Linked DNA regions of Homo sapiens: regions 1 and 2 are each linked to region 3. Evidence: promoter capture Hi-C in human tissues and cell types (Jung and others, 2019). All regions are on one chromosome and are shown on one strand. The core of a region is centred on a gene start or on the middle of the fragment in contact, and the rest is flanking DNA. Distances in the headings are between cores, read along the strand shown.

Region 1 (4,485 bases), core at 1,751-4,250, 270 kb before region 3:
AGTGAAACCCCATCTCTACTAAAAATACAAAAAAAGTCAGCCAGGTGTGGTGGCAGGTGCCTGTAATCCCAGCTACTTGGGAGGCTGAGGCACGAAAATCACTTGAACCCGGGAGGCAGAGGTTGCAGTGAGCCAAGATCGCGCCACTGCACTCCAGCCTGGAGGACAGAGTGAGACTCCATCTAAAAAAAAAAAAAAAGAAATAATAATATTGCCCTAATGTGGGATGGAGAACAGACCTCAGAGTCCTCAACCAGAGGAAAGAAAGGGGAGTGTTACTTTTCCTCTACTTTTGGGTTTCTCAGCAGATGCACTACTGATGTTTTGGGCAGGACAAGTCTTCCTCCGATGGGACCATCACACTCATTGAAGGATATTTGTCATGCTTGGATCCTGCACACTAAATACTTACACAGTCATCCTGATAACGCCAAATACCCCCACATATTTCCAAGTATTCTCTAGGAAGGTAGTTATGCCCCAAGCCTAATCCAAATGCACCTAGTGGACATGCACAAGCAAGAAAGTCACTGAGATTACAGTGTGCTGAAATCATCTGATGATTTTTAGGCTTGTTTTGTCCACAGGACCTAGACCTTCTACTCTCTGAGATCAGTGACTACGTTTGATTCATCTAGGTGTGAGGTGTGCCACTATTCAGTAGAAATACAACGCAAGCAACAGAACTTAAAATTTTCTAGTAGCCACACTAGAAAAGTAAAACAAAACAGTTGAAATGAATTTCAATAACATTTTATTTCACTCACTATATAAAAAATACGATTATTTTAACATGTAGACAAGATTTAAAAGTTACTGATGACATATTTTACATTCTTTTGTGTACTAAGTCTTTGAAACCTGGAGTGTATATTATACTTACAGAAATCTGAACTCAGACTAGCCACATTTCAAGTGCCCAGTGGCTAGTAGGTACCATATTGCACAGCACTAGAAAGCTCTATTCACTTACTTTCTCCCACAGCTATTGCCTACTTTTTTCTCCCAACATTTTTTGTGTGTTTTCTTCTATTTCAAACATATAGAAACGTTGAAACATAGAGAAAAGTTCAAACATATTTCAAACACACAGAAAGGTTGAAATAATTGTACAGTTGAATATACCTAACACTAGTCTCTATAATTAACTACTTGCTACAGTTATCAGATATCAATTTGTCTATCCAACCATCTCTCCATAACATTTTTTGATTATTGTCTACTTTTTAGAAGTGTTTCTTTTTATATGTGTGTAGGACAGGTTGAAAACCCACTCAGGAAATTATTATCTCTTTGAACATTGTTCTACAAAAGCTTAATCAGGAGCTTTTTCAAATTTCAGGGCAAAAGAACTTGAAAGCTTCTCTCCTTTTCCTCTTTATTATCCTCTTATGCCTGTGTCCTGATTTTCCTCTCCTGTGGATTCTCGGAGACATGACTTCTCTTTCCCATCAGAGAGCAAGCTTTCTGAGTGAAGCATCATACTCGGTTACATCTCTCAGCCTAGCACAATATTGTTCTGGGTTAGAGGTAGGCTTTGGGGTCAGACAGGTCTGCACTTGATTCTGGCTCTGTCATTTACTACTGCGTGACCCAGAATGGGTGCTTTATTTATTTATTTGTTATTTTGGGGGACAGAGTCTCACTGTATCCTCCAGGCTGGAGTGCAGTGTCACGATCTCGGCTCACTGCAACCTCTGCTCCCAGGTTCAAGCGATTCTCCTGCCTCAGCCTCCTGAGTAGTTGGGATTACACACCCAGCTATTTTTTTGTATTTTTAGTAGATATGGGGTTTCACCATGTTGGTCAGGCTGGTCTCGAATTCCTGATCTTAGGTGATCCACCCACCTTGGCCTCCCAAAGTGCTGGGATTACAGGGGTGAGCCACCATGCCGGGCAACAGTGAGAGCTTTAACTCTCTAAGCCTCCTATGTAATGTGAGGACAATAGGTTTGTTGTGAGATCTAAAGATACATTTGTAAAGTGTAATTATTCTAGCAATTATTAAAATAGTTGGGGAGGAAAAGGAAAGGAGATTATTGCTTATGAATGACTCCTTTTGTGCTTTCCTTGTGAATATTTAGGTCCCAGAATTTACCCAGTGTGTTGTAATAATTTATATTTCTGTCTCCTGTCCTAGGTAAAAAGCTCTTGGAAGGCATGGATTGTCTTTTTTCTACCCAGCCTCAGCACCAGGCACAGAGTCTAGTTCAACAGATGTTAGTTATATCAATGAATATAATTCTAAGTGTCACAATTATCTTTAGATAATGATTTCAGAAAATTACAGAGACTTGAAAATCCAGAGAGCAATAAATCTTAGACTGCACAGATTCAATCTGTCTCCAGTTCTTCCCTCGTTGTGCATGAGGGCAAACTTAGGCTCAAGAAAGTTCACTATGTTTACTGCATATACATGTCTCAAAGCCCATGGACATGCTGCCCAGGGAAGGCAGGAGAAGCAGTCCCCTTGGATTAATCAGCTCCCACACATCCCCAAGGACAGTGAATCTAGGAGACCTCTTCCACCTGTTGGCATCTTTTTTTTTTTTTTTTGAGACAGAGTCTCGCTCTGTCACCCAGGCTGGAGCACAGTGGCGCGATCTCGGCTCACTGCAACCTCTGCCTCCCGGGTTCAAGCGATTCTCCTGCCTTGGCCTCCTGAGTAGCTGAGACTACAGGCGCACGCCGCCACACCTGGCTAATTTTTTTGTATTTTAGTAGAGATGGGGTTTCATTGTGTCGCCCAGGCTGGTTGCGAACTCCTGAGCTCAGGCAATCCGCCGCCCTTGGCCTGCGAAAGTGCTAGGATTGCAGGCATGAGCCACCGCGCCTGGCTGGCATCTTTAAAATGACACCAATGAAGCTTATGATTCTGGGGTCTAGCTGCTCTCTTCGTTGGTGAATAGGTGGATCACTTTGCAGACCTGTTCTACTTGGTGGGCATGCTTCTGAATATTTTTCTAAAGGTGCTGTAACTTTTGTTGCTTTCATTATTATACAAGTAAAATGTTTATTGTTGCAAGTTTTAGAAATGTAGAAATGCCAAATAAAAAGCAGTCACCTGCAAACTCACTGCTCAGAGGAAGCCCTATAAAGATTGCATCTTGTAGCTCTTCAGACTTCTGTCTGTGCGTGTTTATAGGTGTAACACAAACATTGCCAGCACTAACCACCCTGCATGTACAAATGAGGTCACATTTTCATGAATTCCTAGATTTTGCAGACCACACTCCCCATCCAAATAACATCAGTGCCTCAGTGTATTCACCTCTAGCCCTGTCTTCCTGTAGCCTTCCCCATTTGTTTTTGAAGCTCCCTAGCAGCTGCTGCACACATTTTGCACTTCATGCCTTTCTTCTCTCTCCTTCCCATCATCCTTTGGGGCCAGAAGGAACCAGGCTTCTCCCAGGCCTGGATATCATGGCCTCCATCTACCTTAGAGCTTCAAACTTCGGCTACATGGCTGTCGCATGTGGAATGGAGGAGCTTTCTACGTTATAGGAGATCTGCATGGGCTGGGTCCTCGTTTGGTCCTTGATTCAGTGTGTTGAAAGGGAGAGAAAAAAGAATTTGGAAAATCCTCTTAGGAAACTGGCTTGACTTACAGGGCAAAGTCCAATTTTGAAGGTCAAAGACTGCATGCATATTAAAGTCCTTCTCCTTGCATTCTTTTTGTAATAATTCAACTCTCTCTCCAGACAAATGCTCTGGAACAACTAGGAAGAAACTTACATATTTGGAAAAGTAACTTTAAAGAGCAGGTTATCAGTCTAGGCAACATAGCGAGACCACGTCTCTACAAAGAATAAAAAAGTTAGCCAGACGTGGTGGCACACACCTGGAGTCCCAGCTACTTGGGAGGCTGAGGCGGGAGGATTGTTTGGGAGGAGGTAGAGGCTGCAGTGAGCTCTGATCATGCCACTGCACTCTAGCCTGGGCAACAGAGCAAGATCCTATCTCAAAAAAAGTATATTACTACTTTTCAAAAATATTACCTCTATAGCATATAAGAATTTATTTAACAGATGCTTGTGGCAGGTTGTTTGCAAGTCTCACAGGATCCATATCCCCTGAAGTGCAGCCTGGACTATAATGCGGGCTCCTCCCTTTCAGACACATGGTGTGGTGCTTCGGTTAGTCAGGTCTTCTTTCACAGCTGTCAGTGAAGACTTGCTTTTTCTTTTGTTCATTGGTCTTCCACATCTCTTGTTAAGTTTATTCTTGTTTGTTCTTAGAAGTTTTATAATTTTTGTTTTAAGTTTCAATAATGCCTTCATTCTGTCTTTGAATTAGTAATTACTGTTATGTAGGAAAATCACCGATTTTGTATTTTTATTTTTAAATTTTAGAATCTAAATTTATTATTATTATTATTATTATTATTATTATTATTTAGAGATGGGATTTCACCATGTTGGCCAGGGTGGTCTTGAACTCCTGGAGTCAAATGATCTGCCTGCCTTAGCCTCCCAAAGTGCTGGG
Region 2 (4,414 bases), core at 1-2,500, 350 kb before region 3:
TTTACAGGTCCAGAAACTCAGCCTAAAGAGGGACAGTGACTTGCCTGGGTTCACAGAGCCCATTAGTGCTGGAATCTCCTACTCCCATAAGAACCTATGGACTCCCTTGTGACTTCCCACATTCACTGATTTTGATCCTTGGCCCACAGTTTTCTCTACTTCAAGCACTTATCACCTTCACTTGCCCTCATCTGAAAGATGTTATGCTCTGCAGCCTCTGAACACTGTCTCTTGTACTCCAACCCCTGCCCCTACGTCTGCTACTGTACCTCATTAGAGACTTCTCTTCCTTTGACTGCTCCCTTTTTCAATCTGTCATTTGCCTCCTGGCATCACTTTCTTTCCCTATTGGTGCTGTATGCTCCCTTCACATCCTCATGCCTTCTTTTGCTTAGTTTTCCTGATCTTCCTCCCTGACACCCTCACATCATCAACCCATTAAATATTTGGATTCTCTGCTTCTCTAACTAGGTTCTCACTTCCAACTGTGCCCGAATCCTGAACTACCCACTGATGAGGTTTTTCTCCAGTTCCCTACATTAGCCTTCCCAAACCTTCCCCTTTCTCTTCTTGTCTCCTGCTCCCTACTCTTATCCCTCTTCCCCTGGACCCCAGCCATTGGCCTTATCTCCTACTTCACAGGGCATATAGAAGCCATCAGAGGGGAACTTCCACAGGTTCTTGTTCCCTGAAACTCTAGGAAGGCTCCATCCTCTTCCTTCGTCTTGGTCATAGGAAGTGGTGTTTCTCCTGTCCAGAGAAAATCCCTTCACCTCTGCTTTGACCTCATCCCTTTCCTCCATCTCTGGGATCTTGTCTCACCAGGCATCTCTTCTCTCTCTTCTGGGTCCTTCAAGGTCCTTTAGTCTACTGGCCTCTTCCCCTTTTCCTTCCTACAAAAGTACTTCCTTGACTCCACAACTCCCTCTGGATATTGTCTGACTTTACTTTTGTACTTTTCATCCAAGCTTCTTTAAGAGACTCCTTGAAACTCACTGCTGTTTGACTCCTGCCTCCACTGCACCAGTGTGAAACTGCACTCTCCGATGTTCCCAAAGATCTTCTAATTGCAAAACCCAATGGACACTTTTCAGTCTTTATCTTATTGGTGCCCCAACTGCATCTAACATCACTTCCCACTCTATCCTTCTTGAAACTTCCTCCCTTCTTGACTTCCTTGAAGCCACTTTCCTTCAACAGGCAGCTTGAATGTGAGTGTGATGGAGGCAGATGGCCAGATCCAGGCTTTCTCCTGTGTCTAATAGGTGTCAACTCTAAGTTATTAGGCAGTCTCTCCCTGGGCTGGGATCTACCTGCCCCATATAGAGCCAAGTCAGGTTCCAATGACTCCTCTTTTATTGCTGATCTGGGCCAGACTCACAAAGGCCTGTGCCAGTTGCTGACAGTGTCTGTCCCTGGAGGAAGAAAGAGCAGAGGTGAAAGGGTCAGGTATGGGGGTCAGAAGGGAGGCCAGGCTGGAGACCGTGTGAACCAGGGAGCCCCGGGGGACTAGGGTGGGAGCTGGGAAGGCCAGAGGGCCCCTGTATCTGCAGGGCCTAGAAGTCAGAGTTGCTGAGGATGGCTTCTCGGAGCACAGCCATCTCTGCAAAAGGTACATAGTCTGCTCCTGGGGGTGAAAACCAGTGCAGATGTGGGATGCAGGTAGGTGGGTGGTGGGGAGGTGGGCTGAGGGAGCGCGCTAGTCCTGGAAGGGATGGTTGAGGATGGGAGTGCCTTCCTGCCTGGCCTTCTGACTACAGACCCTGGAATGGCCCCCTGTCCCAGGTTTCTGCCTCACCGCGAGGCCTTCCTCCTCGTTGCCGGGTCTTCTGGGTGTCAAAGAAAGTCTCGTGTTCCTCCCAGCGCCGGTCACAGGCCGCACAGAGGAAATTAGACTCAAAACAGCCGCAGCAACAGCCTGGGGCAAAAGTGCAGCCAAGAAGAGTTTAGGAAATGGTGGTATCCCCAGGAGCTGACCACATTCTCATCTCTTCCTCAGTGACCGCATGCCCAAGGCTCTCATACCTGCTCTCCATCATTATCCCCAGATTGCATCCTATCCCCACCTACCCTGCTCCCAATACACCTCTTGCCCTAGAAGTTACCATGATGCCTGCAGGGATGGGGCCCAGTGGCTGCATGTTCTTCGTGGCTGTGTTTGCAGCGACATTGGGCCCTCCAGGCCTTGGGGTCAAAGGTGGCCCGTCTCTTGAGCCAGAACTCACCCACCTCCTCTGGGCGTGATGGGATAAAGCAGAACATGAAGCAGCGGCACTGGCTTACCTTGCAGGGCACCGATATGTCTGTGGGATTGGGGATGGATGGTAGGGTTAATCTGATAGGACCTTGCCTTCTCATGCCAACCCCATCCTCCATCCCCACCACCCCCTATGCACGCAGACATGCTTTTTTTTTTTTTGAGATGGAGTTTTGCTCTGTCGCCCAGGCTGGAGTGCAGTGGCATGATCTCAGTTCACTGCAACTTCCGCCTCCTGGCTTCAAGTGACTCTCCTGCCTCAGCCTCCTGAGTAGCTGGGACTACAGGTGCGTGCCACCATGCCTGGCTAAATTTTTTGTATTTATTTATTTATTTTTTAGTAGAGACGGTGTTTCACTGTGTTAGCCAGGATGGTCTCGATCTCCTGACCTTTGATCCACCCGCCTCCGCCTCCCAAAGTGCTGGGATTACAGGGGTGAGCCACCGTGCCCAGCCACATGCTCTCTCTCATACTTCCCAAGACATGACAGAGTACAGTTATTCCTCCACACTCGAGAGGGGCTGGTCAGTTCTCCCCTACCTGAGATGATCCGGTGCTCTCTCAACAAGTGTCCACAAAAGCATCTGGACTCATCCCCAATCCGGAAACAGTCCCATAGGTAATGGGGGCAGCGCCAGCCAATGTAGAGACCTAGGTATGCAGGATTAAAAGTGAGAAGTAAAAAAATTCTAAGCTCCCCCGAAGTGTTCTTACCTATCCCTTGATGGAGGTGAGGGGGTGGGGGGAACTTACCTCTCCCCACCCCCAGGTATCTTTATCTCCACCTGGAAGTCCTCACCTCTACCCCTTAGATTTTCTTTTTCCTCAGGGTTTTCTCATTACCCCAGAAGTGTCTTCAGTTCTCTTCCTACCCAGGATCTACTCCATCTTTGTCAGCCTGCCAGAGATGACTCAAGAGAGTGGTTTCTGAGCAGGAAGATTATAGATGAAATTTTGTTTGAGGATGAACATGAATCTCACTGAGTTCTCTGTGACCACAGGGATTCTCATCTCCTCTCCTCATCCCACTAAAGCCCAACTTTGCTTTGTTTTCTTGAAGTGTCTAAGGTGAGGGAAAGGGAAGATGATTGGCCAGATGTACAGACAATGGGATTGGCTCCTAAGGAGCATATTTATTGAAGGTCCTGAAGAGGAGAAGGAGGTTGGATAGCTCTGGTGCTGGAAGGTAGGAGGAGGGCTTCCTCTCACGTCTCCACGTTGGTACCTTAATACCTCCCTCTGTGTTCCTGGTGCTATTGTACCAATGCTCTCTGTGTACCTAAGAAGGGCTGCCAAAGGTTCTTCAAGGGTCAGGAGAAAGGGGTAGGTAGCAGTCATGAGTGGTGAAGACCAAAAATTATATATTTTGAGGCTAAGCAAGGAGGCGTGGAAAGGAAAGTGAGGCTAAGAAGTGTCCCTGAGAGTAGGCACCAGCAAGAGGTCACAACCCTCGAGAGCTGGTGTTCAGCAGTGAGGTCTGAATCCCTGGCTTCGTGACTAGTCTTGAGGTGAGGGTGGTGCTGTGCAACTGAGGGAGGATAACCAGATGGCACCTCCAATTCAGATTTTCTCATTCTCCATGAGAACTGAGAGTACCCCAACTTCTAGCCAAGAATCCTGTATGAGGCCCCATGCAGTGGGACTGCCAGGTGTAGGATTCTTAGTCCCAATTAAAGGCTCAACTGAAATGTCACCTCCACCAAAAAGGTGTCCCTGACTTCCCCTGTCTGTCTGGGCCCCTCCTATTGCCATCCATAGCTCCTTGTGCTACTCCTGTTGCAGTACACTGCATTATAATAGATCATTCCCTTGTATTCCTATTAGTCCATGAGTTCTTCAAGGGAGCTGTCTTTTCACCCGTATCTCTCATCCTAGCACAAGGCCTGGCACAAAATGGTTGCTGAGAGAACGTAGATTGCCTGATTAAACAATTGAGCTCATTCCTTCAAGAGGAAGAGAGAGCCAGTATTCAGGCATAACCCTGAGGTTCCATAACATGAATAAGGAGAGTGGCATCATCTGGTCTTTGACTGTGGTCAGGGCCACAATTCACAATTCCGTGCCTCAGATTAAGTTTTCTTGTCTTACCCATAGTCTGTCAGGATCTAAAGCCTGTCTAGATGTGGCTTTTGGCTTTGCTTCTTCTGTCTTGATGC
Region 3 (4,402 bases), core at 1,215-3,714:
TCTAATAATAGGCCGGGCACGGTGGTTCACGCCTATAATCCCAACCCTTTGAGAGGCCGAGGCGGGCGGATCACCTGAGGTCAGGGGTTCGAGACCAGCTTGGCCAACATGGTGAAACCTCGTCTCTACTAAAAATACAAAACTTTGCCGGGCATGTTGACAGGCGCCTGTAATCCCAGCTACTGGGGGTGGGGGGTGAGGGGGGTTGGGGGGTTGGGTAATAAAAGACAGGGGAATTGCAACAGAGAAAGAGTAATTCACACAGAGCCAGCCGTGCGGGAGACTGGAGGGTTTTGTTTTTGTTTTTTGGGGTTTTTTTTTTTGAGACGGAGTCTCACTCTGTCGCCCAGGCTGGAGTGCAATGGTGCGATCTGGGCACGCTGCAACCTCCGCCTCCCGGGTTCGAGCGATTCTGCTGCCTCAGTCTCCCCAGTAGCTGGGATTACAGGCATTACAGGCATGCACCACCACTCCCAACTAATTTTTGTATTTTTAGTAGAGACAGGGTTTTGCCATGTTGGCCAGGCTGGTCTCGAAACCATGACCTCAGGTGATCCGCCCACCTTGGCATCCCAAAGTGCTAGGATTACAAGCATGAGGCACCGCGCCCGGCCTGGAGTTTTATTATTACTCAAATCAGTCTCCCGGAGCATTGGGGGAGCAGAGTTTTTAAAGATAACTTGGTGGGTAGGGGGAAGCCAGTGAGCCAGGAGTGCTGCTGATTGGTCAGAGATGAAATCATGGGAGTTGGAGCTGTCTTCTTGGGCTGAGTCAGTTCTTGGGTCTGGGGGCCACAAGATCAGATGAGCCAGTTTATTGATCTGAGTGGTGCCAGCTGATCCATCAAGTGCAGGTTCTGCAAAATATCTCAAGCACCGGCCGGGCACGGGGGCTCACGCCTGTAATCCCAGCACTTTGGAAGGCTGAGGCAGGTGGATCACCTGAGGTCGGGAGTTTGAGACCAGCCTGACCAACATAGAGAAACCCCATCTCTACTAAAAATACAGAATTAGCCGGGTGTGGTGGTGCATGCCTGTAATCCCAGCTACTCAGGAGGCTGAGGCAGGAGAAACGCTTGAACCCGGGAGTTGGAGGTTGTGGTGAGCCGAGAACGCACCATTGCACTCCGGCCTGGGCAAGAAGAGCGAAACTGTCTAAAAAAAAAAAAAAAGAGAAATCTCAAGCACTGGTCTTAGGAGCAGTTTAGGGAGGGTTAGAATCTTGTAGCCTCCAGCTACATGACTCCTAAACCATAATTTCTAATCTTGTGGCTAATGTTAGTCCTACAAAGGCAATCTAGTCCCCAGGCAAGAAGGAGGTCTGCTTTGGGAAAGGGCTGTCTTTGTTTAAACCGTAAACTATACATATAGGTTTCTCCCAAAGTTAGTTCAGCCTTTGCCAAGGAATGAGCAAGGACAGCTTGGAGGTTAGAAGCAAGATGGAGTCAGTTAAGTTGATCTCTTTCACTGTCTCAGTCATAATTTTGCAAAGGCTGTTTCAAGCTGAGATCGCACCACTGCACTCCAACCTGGGTGACAGAGCGAGACTCTGTCTCAAAAAAATAAAAATAAAAATAAAAATAAACTCATAATAATCTTTGAAGTGGGTACTACTATCAAATATTAGTTCCATCTCACAGAGGAGGAAACTGAGGTTTAGAAAGTCTGATCAACTCGCCCAAGTCCACCTTTGATGGAGAAAGCTGACCCACTGAAGCCCCCAACATTTTCCAACTGGACACTTGGAAATGTTGGGGGAACATTCTAGTTTGCCAAGGAGCTGAAATCATCCGGTCTTTAAAGACCCTCCCATGCCCCCGTTTGTGGTTAACTCCTTCATCCCTGCTCCAGGGAGTGGCCTCCACCTCTCCATTTTGAAGGAGAATGATGTCTGTGGCCACCAAGGTCAGAAGCCAAAGGACAGAGCTTTTCTCTGATGCCCAGGAGCCTTGGCAGGAAGAGTGCTTGGAGAGTTGAGAGTCAGAGACTGGGGAAAGCTGGGTAGTCAGGAGCTTCCAGAAGGGTAGGAAGAATGCGAGGTTCCCCAGGTTCTGGGCCCTGCTCGGCTTCCAACTGGCTATGTGATTTTGGGCAAGTGCCTTCTCTTCTCTGGGCCTCAGTTTCCCTCAAAATGGGAGGATTCTTCTAGGTCTAATAATCTCTTCCCTTTCCCCACCTCCCCTTATCTCTCCTACACAAACTGCTCCCCACTGCCCCACCCAGACTGGCTCTGATATTCCAGAAGCCTTTAACTACGGTTTGAAAGTCCCAGGTGGAAGTTGCCGCCCATCCCTGAGGTTCCTCCTGAGCTCTGGGCCCAGGGCTTTAGGTCCTGCTAGGGTATGTGGCCTTGGCAGGTTGGAGAGATCAGAGGGGAGGAAGGCCCAGTGCCTCTGAGACAGGCCTCAGGGAGGCCTGCATTGTGATGACCTGATCCACTCTATGACATCATCCTCTCTTCCACCCTCTCTTCTCCCTGGTCAACCGCTCTGCAAACAACCATCAATCTGATCCCACAGGCCTGAGAAAGTCTGCTCTCCAGTACCTGCTGCTGATCTGTTTCAGCCGACAAGAGGCACCATGAAATTGGAATTCACGGAGAAAAACTACAATAGCTTCGTGCTGCAGAACCTGAACAGACAGAGGAAACGCAAAGAGTACTGGGACATGGCCCTGAGTGTGGACAACCACGTCTTCTTTGCACATCGCAATGTGCTGGCTGCTGTCTCCCCACTGGTGAGGAGCCTCATCTCCAGCAATGACATGAAGACCGCTGATGAGCTTTTCATCACCATTGACACCAGTTACCTGAGCCCGGTCACAGTGGACCAGCTTCTGGACTACTTCTATAGCGGCAAGGTGGTGATCTCCGAGCAAAATGTGGAGGAGCTGCTTCGTGGGGCTCAGTATTTCAACACACCACGCCTTCGAGTTCACTGTAACGACTTCCTTATTAAGTCCATCTGCCGTGCCAACTGCTTGCGCTACCTCTTCTTGGCTGAGCTGTTTGAGCTCAAAGAGGTATCAGACGTAGCTTACTCTGGCATTCGGGACAACTTCCACTACTGGGCCAGTCCTGAGGGCTCCATGCACTTCATGCGCTGTCCACCTGTTATCTTTGGCCGCCTGCTCCGTGATGAAAACCTTCACGTGCTCAATGAAGACCAGGCGCTCAGCGCACTCATCAATTGGGTGTACTTCCGGAAGGAGGATCGGGAGAAGTATTTCAAGAAGTTCTTCAATTACATCAATCTCAATGCTGTCTCCAATAAGACGCTGGTGTTTGCCAGCAACAAGCTGGTGGGCATGGAGAACACCTCATCCCATACAACCCTGATTGAGAGTGTCCTGATGGACCGCAAGCAGGAGCGGCCATGCAGCCTGCTGGTCTACCAGCGGAAAGGGGCCCTGCTTGATTCCGTGGTCATCCTCGGTGGCCAGAAGGCCCACGGCCAGTTCAATGATGGAGTGTTTGCTTATATCATCCAGGAGAACCTGTGGATGAAGCTCTCAGACATGCCCTATCGGGCAGCAGCACTTAGTGCCACCTCTGCTGGTCGCTACATCTACATCTCTGGTGGCACCACTGAGCAGATTTCAGGGCTGAAGACAGCCTGGCGGTATGACATGGATGACAACTCCTGGACCAAGTTGCCTGACCTGCCCATCGGGCTTGTCTTCCACACCATGGTGACCTGTGGGGGGACAGTGTACTCAGTGGGCGGGAGCATTGCCCCAAGGCGGTATGTCTCCAACATCTATCGCTATGATGAGCGGAAGGAAGTCTGGTGCCTGGCAGGAAAGATGAGCATCCCCATGGATGGCACCGCCGTGATCACTAAAGGAGACAGGCATCTGTACATTGTCACTGGACGGTGCTTGGTGAAAGGTTATATCTCCCGGGTCGGGGTAGTGGACTGCTTTGACACCAGCACTGGGGACGTGGTCCAGTGTATCACCTTCCCCATTGAGTTCAACCATCGGCCCCTGCTCTCTTTCCAACAGGACAACATCCTCTGCGTGCACAGCCACCGGCAGAGTGTGGAAATCAATCTGCAGAAGGTGAAGGCAAGCAAGACGACCACCTCAGTGCCTGTCTTGCCCAACAGCTGCCCCTTGGATGTGTCCCATGCTATATGCTCCATTGGAGACAGCAAGGTGTTTGTATGTGGGGGTGTCACCACTGCCAGCGATGTCCAGACAAAGGACTACACCATCAATCCAAATGCCTTCTTGCTGGACCAAAAGACAGGCAAGTGGAAGACCCTGGCTCCTCCACCAGAGGCACTGGACTGTCCTGCCTGCTGTCTAGCCAAGCTACCTTGCAAGATTCTTCAAAGGATTTAAACATTTTAAGTGGGAGAATAAGTAAATGCATTATTATTCACGATTTAATGAGAGAA

What was found. The method cuts DNA at HindIII sites, captures the fragments that hold promoters and counts their contacts. A contact is called where the count stands out against the background at its distance.
Region 1: a fragment that was not itself captured here is called in contact with the fragment with the promoter of CCIN in region 3 in 2 of the 25 tissues and cell types used here (adrenal gland and lymphoblastoid cells).
Region 2: a fragment that was not itself captured here is called in contact with the fragment with the promoter of CCIN in region 3 in 3 of the 25 tissues and cell types used here (IMR-90 fibroblasts, hippocampus and neural progenitor cells).

Annotation. Positions count from the first base shown.
Region 1 is chr9:35,892,663-35,897,147 of GRCh38, forward strand. No RefSeq gene overlaps it. Among named protein-coding and RNA genes, the nearest start is that of HRCT1, 11 kb to the right of the region's middle. RefSeq lists an enhancer at 2,728-3,227. The HindIII fragment of the contact is 7,635 bases long and covers 1-4,485 here.
Region 2 is chr9:35,817,092-35,821,505 of GRCh38, forward strand. It overlaps FAM221B (family with sequence similarity 221 member B), which reads right to left. Exons shown (of 7, transcript NM_001012446.4): 4 at 2,799-2,909; 5 at 2,106-2,303; 6 at 1,799-1,918; 7 at 1-1,415. The coding sequence ends at 1,378. Among named protein-coding and RNA genes, the nearest start is that of HINT2, 4.3 kb to the left of the region's middle. The HindIII fragment of the contact is 5,842 bases long and covers 1-4,171 here.
Region 3 is chr9:36,166,924-36,171,325 of GRCh38, forward strand. It overlaps CCIN (calicin), which reads left to right and starts at 2,465. Exons shown (of 1, transcript NM_005893.3): 1 at 2,465-4,402. The coding sequence starts at 2,580. The coding sequence ends at 4,346. RefSeq lists an enhancer at 1-71. The HindIII fragment of the contact is 27,142 bases long and covers 1-4,402 here.